Regions from separate parts of the Homo sapiens genome. Here region 2 is linked to region 1. The links are contacts of gene promoters, found by promoter capture Hi-C in blood cells and fetal thymus (Javierre and others, 2016). All regions are on one chromosome and are shown on one strand. Each heading gives the region's core, a stretch centred on a gene start or on the middle of the fragment in contact. The rest is flanking DNA. Distances are from core to core; before and after follow the strand shown. Region 1 holds the start of GRSF1 (G-rich RNA sequence binding factor 1). Region 2 overlaps SLC4A4 (solute carrier family 4 member 4).

Region 1 (3,306 bases), core at 425-2,924:
CTCCAAAAAAAAAAAAAAAAAAAGGCTTAATGTTTAGTTTTAAGGAATAAATGTAAGCAGTGTCTAACACATAGTAGATGCTCTACAGATATCACCGCAGTCAATTTCATAGAAAAAAAAAGAGAGAAGCTAGCTCACAAAGGTTTACTGGAGATGGTTTTGTTGTGGTTTTTGTAGACAACTTTCCCCATTTTTCCATAATTCCATAAGCATCACAAGCTTTTACAGAAAAAGGCAGCGTAAAGTATTGGGCCAGGATTCAAATCAATTAGCTCAGCCACTGGCAGACAGCAGCCATGCTGATTAGCCTCCCAGTCTCCCTAAGTTAAAGGAGAAGCACAAATTGAATTAAGATAAATATGACCTAAGGAATCAGGGGCTGGGTAGTTAAAAAGTGTGCAGACACTTCCCAGATGCCACGTACCAAGAAGAGAAAGGTTCATCTACAAAGCACAAAATATTTGCAATCTAACTACACACCGACTTTTCTAAAAAAATAAAGAAAAAATGGAAAGGAAAACATTGCAAATTCATTCCTGGGACCCCAAGTTGTGTCCTCAACCCTCAACGCTCCCTCCCATTCACCCCCTCCCCCCAACAGCTAAATCTCCAAACTGCTTTCCCAGACGAGGCGACACACAGTCCTTAAAGACCTTCTGTATGAGTGGAGTTGCAGAGGTGACCTTCAGTAAACCGGGACAGCTCGTCTTTCCCTGGGGACAGGAGAGGGAACGGCGCGATGGGGACAGGCTCCTTCCCTACAAGCCAGCCCACGCAACTGTGTGCGCGCACCTTCCCAGCAGCGGCCGACCGAGAGGCGCCGAGGGCCGCCCAGGCCTAGCGCTCGGGCTGCACGGAAACTCCCAACCCTCCGGCGGGCTCGGGCCTCGCAACTTCACAACCAGCCGGCGGAAAGCAAGAAGATGCGAGGTGGGGGCGTCAGCAGCCTCACGAAACCTACCATGGGCCAGGCGGGGAACAAGGCCTCAACATTCACCCCAGCCACACTTACACTGCCCAACCGACCAGAGACTCGAGGCGAGAACAAAACAAGCAGAAGACCCGACGCCTGGGAGAGCTTCCCTTGTTCCAGGGCCCAATAGGAGCACAGGGTGGACGGGGGCGGGTGTGCGGCGAGTGTCGCGGATCCCCGGGCGTGCCCGCGAGGCGCACACGGAGGGACGGAGGGGCGCGGGGGCGCGTGCACGCGGCCCGGGAGGGATCTCGCGCCAGGTCCCTCACGGCGCCCACGTACCTGGCTGTAGCTGCGCGTCGGGACGGCGGCCGCCGCCGCCAGCGACTGCGGCAGCAGAGAGGCACGGAGGGCAGAGTAGGACGCGGCGGCCGCGGCCGCGGCAGAGGTGGCCACAGCGGGAGGCCCCGCCAGCCTCCCGGGAGGCACAGGCCCGGTCTGGAGGCCACGCGTCTGGGAGGCAGCGGCCGCGGCGGCCCCGAGCAGCAGCAGCAGGCGGCGGCGGCCCGAGACGCCCGACGGGATAGAGCCAGCGGCGGAGTAGAAGGGCAGGCAGGCGGCGCCGGTGCGCCGGCAGCTGCTGCAGTTACAGCCGCAGCCCCGGAGCAGCGCCCCGAGTACCCAGCGCGTGCCGGCCATGGACTCCGGAGGCGGCGCAGGGCCTGAAGGCAGCTGCTCCAGCAGCGATGGTGGAACGGAAGTGGAATCCAGGGCCGGTTGGGGGTGGGGTGTGCCTGGCACATGCGCCGCGGGCACTGGGTGGGGGGCCTCCGAGAGTCGGAAGGAGGTGGAGGAGAGCGCGACGCTCCGCCCAGTCTCCGCCCTTGGGCGGGGCTGCCCATGGTTTGGGCGGGGCTGCCCATGGTTTGGGCGGGGCTGCCCATGGTTTGGGCGGGGCTGCCCATGGTTTGGGCGGGGCTGCCCATGGTTTGGGCGGGGCTGCCCATGGTTTGGGCGGGGCTGCCCATGGTTTGGGCGGGGCTGCCCATGGTTTGGGCGGGGCTGCCCATGGTTTGGGCGGGGCTGCCCATGGTTTGGGCGGGGCTGCCCATGGTTTGGGCGGGGCCCGGGGAAGTGGGTGCAATCGAACTGCTCTTTTTTCAGGCGGTGGAAACTGAGGCCCAAAGTAAGTGAGGCTAGGGGCCTGGCGCAGTGACTCATTCGTAGTGACTCATTCTTGTAATCCTAGCACTTTGGCAGGCAGAGGCGGGTGGACTGCCTGAGGTCAGGAGTTCGAGACCAACCTAGGCAACACGGTGAAATCCCGTCTCTACTAAAATACAAAAAATTAGGTCGGACGCGGTGGCTCCCGCCTGTAATCCCAGCACTTTAGTAGGCCGAGGTAGGGCGGATCACCTGAGGTCAGCAGTTCAAGACCAGCCTGGCCAACATGGTGAAACTGTGTCTCTACTAAAAACACAAAAATTAGCCGGGTGTGGTGACGGGTGCCCGTAATCCCAGCTACTCAGGAGGCTGAGGCAGGAGAATCGCTTGAACCCAGGAGGCGGAGGTTGCAGTGAGCCAAGATCGTGCCACCGCACTGCAGCCTGGGCGACAGAGTGAGACGCCATCTCCAAACAAACAAACAAAAAAATTAGGTTAGGGCCATCCTGCTCTGGGTAGGGCCGAGAGCTGTAGCACAAGTCTGTGCTGCCCTGCGCTGTGCCACCGAAACCCGTGGTGTGAGTGGCTAAAGAACCCTTTCTGAAAGGAATTGTGATACCTTGGTTATAAAAAAATCGTTGGGATAATATCAGAGATTTGGTACCCCCCGAATTTGAGGTATGTGAGGAAGGAGAACTTCGTTGTTTTAAAATGAAATATAGGCCTGGCGTGGTGGCTCATGCCTATAATCCCAGCGCTTTGGGAGGCTGAAGTGAGAGGATCACTGGAGCCCAAGAGTTCCAGACCAGCCTGGGCAACATAGGGAGACCCCGTCTATACAAAAAATAAATAAAGCTGGGTGTGATGGCGTGGGCCTGTAGTCCCAGCTACTTGGGAGGCCGATTGCTTCAGCCCAGAAGGTAGAGGCTGTGGTAAGCTATGATTGCCACCACTGAACTCCAGCCTGGGTGACAGAGTGAAACCCTGTCTCTAAAAAAATAAAAGAAAACATATATATTTATTATGTACTGATAATACATAACAAAGGTGAACCCTCCCCTAATGAAACTGTATTCACAAGTGAACACACAGAGATTTGCACACACATACACAAAGACTGGTTGTGCAGCTTTTCTCCTCCTGAGCCAGGACTTGTCAAAGACAAGCAAAAGGAAGTTGTTAGAGTAAAAAATAAGAGAAAGCTAGTATTTTTAAAAACTCCTTACTGT
Region 2 (3,306 bases), core at 504-3,003, 420 kb after region 1:
TGGCCTCTGTGCCTCCCATTTTGTTAGTGTCCAGGGATACTTATGGGGGCATCACAGGCTACTTTGTGACTGTAGAGATCCTGAAGATGTGTAAGATGGTAGGAAACAAAGCTACAAACAGAACATCGTGTTCAGCATTTTGATCTGATGTGTAAGATATTTCTTGACAAGCATGAACATGCATTCATGCTTGGAGGTGCTAACTGCCTCTCACACACAGGTCTTGCCCGTTGTGGAATCATAGCGCTAGGTATGTCCATACAGACACTCATTCAGTCTTGTGGTATTCTTTTTTAGCTTTTTGGATGTGTACCAGAACTGATGGATTTATGCTAGTGAACATTGTTCTGTGAGCCTGGGACAATGGATGCTGGTTGGTGATCCAGTTATATTCAGGAAACTGAAACAGAGAAATGGGCAGCTGCTTTTGTTTGGTGCTTCCGGGTAAATGAACAGAGTAGCTTTTCATAAGAGCCAAGAATATTTGGTGTTGTGTCATTTGACTTCCCCTTTTCCCAGTGCACACCCCTCCCAACCTGACCTCATACTTCTTGGTACATTTGTACTTTTTCTTGATTTTTAAAATGTTTTCAGGCAAGATCCTTAATTTTGATACCATAAAATAAGGTTTCTTTAATTTTCTACATGCCATTGGTATTCTCAAAAATCGATCTATATATAGGAGAAAAGGCTTTGGAAATGTATGAAAATGAGGTAGACCTGTCCCAGTTTAAAAAACAAAACACAAACACAATAAAACTATACCATCTCTTTCATCCCCTTCTCTATTTTTCACCTTATATAAGTAGGAGGAAGTACTTTGTCTTTAGGTCTGAGTACAAAAGCTTTTTATATTAAAAAATGTTTTAAAACTTACAGTTTGCCTTTTCAGAAGGGACACTTGTGTTGTAATTTTGCTGGAAAGGGAGCATATCAGAGTGGTTAAGAGTGCATATTTGAGCCAGATTACTTGAGTTTGAATCCCAGTTCATACCAGCAGTGTAACCTTGGTTATTTACTTAACTTCTTTGTGCTCTAGTTTCCTCATATGTAAAAAGGGGATGATCGATTTTAATCATAGTATTCTGAACATGAAGTGAGCACTGCATGTAGTCAGCAATAATGGTTAGCAGTTATTATTTTGAGTTACTATGATTGCCTTCTTCAAGCTTATCTTTTCCTATCCATCATACACAGGTAATGCCAAAAACTTGAGGCTAAAACTCTGTAGAGCTTAATTCCTTGTAAACAATAACCACTATTCTTTAAGCTCTTCTGGTCTTTTCTGCCACAAATTCTCACTAGGCGTTCTTTTGCTTTAGCTGTCGGCTTGGCTCTTGGCTCCTAACGGCATATTTGAGAGAAGCAACCTAAATTCAGTCTCTTATCTTGCCAGTGAGTGTCAGTCTGCACGTTGGCTGGCAGGTGAGAGGACCAAGGGAACAAGGACTTCAAGGGGCAGAGGTGCTGTCTCTTGTGCTGCTCTTTTTTGTGGAATACTGCCACCAGCAAGTGGCTTGGTGTACCAAGGGTGTCCTTGAATTTAGTCGGCAGTTGTAATTCCCCGTTCTGGATGCCTGAAATCAAATAGACTGTTCTGTCTTTTACAGGAAGGATCTCTTTCTGGCTCTTTCTTTGTGTTTCTTTGTGAAATTAATCTGGTTAAGAAGGGCTGTTGGGTGGGACAAGTCAGCAATTTGGAGGCAGTGTTGTGCAGAAAGGAAAAATATTTGGCATACTTGTGTTTTTGATGGCAATGGGTTGGCTCAACAATGTTGTGTTTTGTGTGGTACAAATAATTGTTGTTTATTCCTCTGTGATGCTGATGAATACAAGAGGACTGTGTCATAGTGCTTCTGCTTCTTTAGCCAGTTAACTGCATAAGTCTCTTAGAGAGCCTTGAGTTTCTGAAATGCAGCTCTCTTGAAGTCACCTTGAAGTGCCCTTCAAATGGCAGATTTTACACTATTCATTTCTTGTTGCCACTGGCTATTCTATTCTAATAGTTATTCCATGTTATCATGCCATGAGATGTTATGAGTAGTGTGTTTACACGTGTCATGGGAGAGTTGATGTTGTTGCTATTTATAGTGACTTATGAGTTCAGGAGACCTCAAAGGGTTCTAGTGTACTCCACGTGCTGGGGTGCTCAGGGCTAAAAAGAGATTGTGACTTAGGGTGGAAAATGGGGGGAAACCAGAATACTGTGCAGAATTTCAGTGTGAAATTTACTTTAGTGAAGTAAATGGGGTATAAATGACTGTCTGCCACAGGCATTACCACCTAAGCGGAAGGCAGGTCACATCCTGTGGTTTGGGATTCAAATTTACAAGGCAGGAAGCTTGAATGTGTATTTGTGAGTTTGTGTGAGTGTGTGTGATTTGAATGCACTGAAAAAAAGAAAGGTATTGGCAAGGGTCTTCTTGAAATAGTATTCTGTTTAGGAATTTTTTCATATAGAAGGAAATAATTCTTAAAGAACAAGGGTTCTTAATACCAGGGATTTAAATTCAGGGCTTTATGAGTGTGAACTCATAAATGCAGAAGTAGTTGGGGTGAGGGACCACGGGCCTACTCTATAAATAAATTCTGCGGAATTCTTCCATGACCACAATCTGGAGGCAGGAATGTTAGGCTCTTTTAATAACTTTCCCATGGATAGGAGTCTTACTTGACTTTTCATCACTTTTATAGAGGTGTTGCGAGCAAGGAGTCTCCATTTTCCTGGTTAATATAGAATCAAGATCCAAGTTATCCTTTATCCTTCTCTGTTGTTTTTCTTCCATAGCCAGCCATGCACTGAGCGCTGTTGGTTTTTCCTTCAAAGTTTCTCTTATGTCTGCCACTTCCTTTGAATTCCTAAGGCAATACTTCTTATTTGGAATTTCAGCGTTAAGTTCATCCTTGAAATAGAAGGGAGTTATTTCAGACAAGGCTGCCAGACATCTAAAATATTAGTTCTATAGTCTCTCCTTAATTAAATAACAAACAAACAAACAATCCTTTTTTTTTTTCTAGCAAACAGTATTTATTCCCCTTTCCCCCCGGGTGTCATTTCTTTGGGAATAGAAAAATGACCTTGTTTTGTGTATCTAGCCAACAATTCTTTTTTTTTTGTTATACTTTAAGTTCTAGTGTACATGTGAACAACGTGTAGGTTAGTTACATATGTATACATTTGCCATGTTGGTGTGCTGCACCCATTAACTCATCATTTAACATTAGCTATATCTCCTAATGCTATCCCTCCCCCCTCCCCCCACTCCACAACAGGCCCCGGTGTGTGATGTTCCCCTTCATGTGTCC

What was found. Contacts are between HindIII fragments. The CHiCAGO score rates a contact against its expected background, and 5 or more counts as called.
Region 2: a contact is called between a fragment that was not itself captured here and the fragment with the promoter of GRSF1 in region 1, in 1 of 17 cell types (monocytes). The highest score is 5.2, in monocytes.

What each region holds. Positions count from the first base shown.
Region 1 is chr4:70,838,216-70,841,521 of GRCh38, forward strand. It overlaps GRSF1 (G-rich RNA sequence binding factor 1), which reads right to left and starts at 1,675. Exons shown (of 10, transcript NM_002092.4): 1 at 1,256-1,675. The coding sequence starts at 1,612. LOC124900710 (a long non-coding RNA gene) reads left to right here and starts at 777. Exons shown (of 3, transcript XR_007058131.1): 1 at 777-930. RefSeq lists enhancers at 378-1,032, 1,033-1,686 and silencers at 1,083-1,632, 1,693-1,942. The HindIII fragment of the contact is 9,073 bases long and covers 218-3,306 here.
Region 2 is chr4:71,259,760-71,263,065 of GRCh38, forward strand. All of the region lies in intron 3 of SLC4A4 (solute carrier family 4 member 4), which reads left to right. Among named protein-coding and RNA genes, the nearest start is that of SLC4A4, 74 kb to the left of the region's middle. The HindIII fragment of the contact is 1,172 bases long and covers 1,168-2,339 here.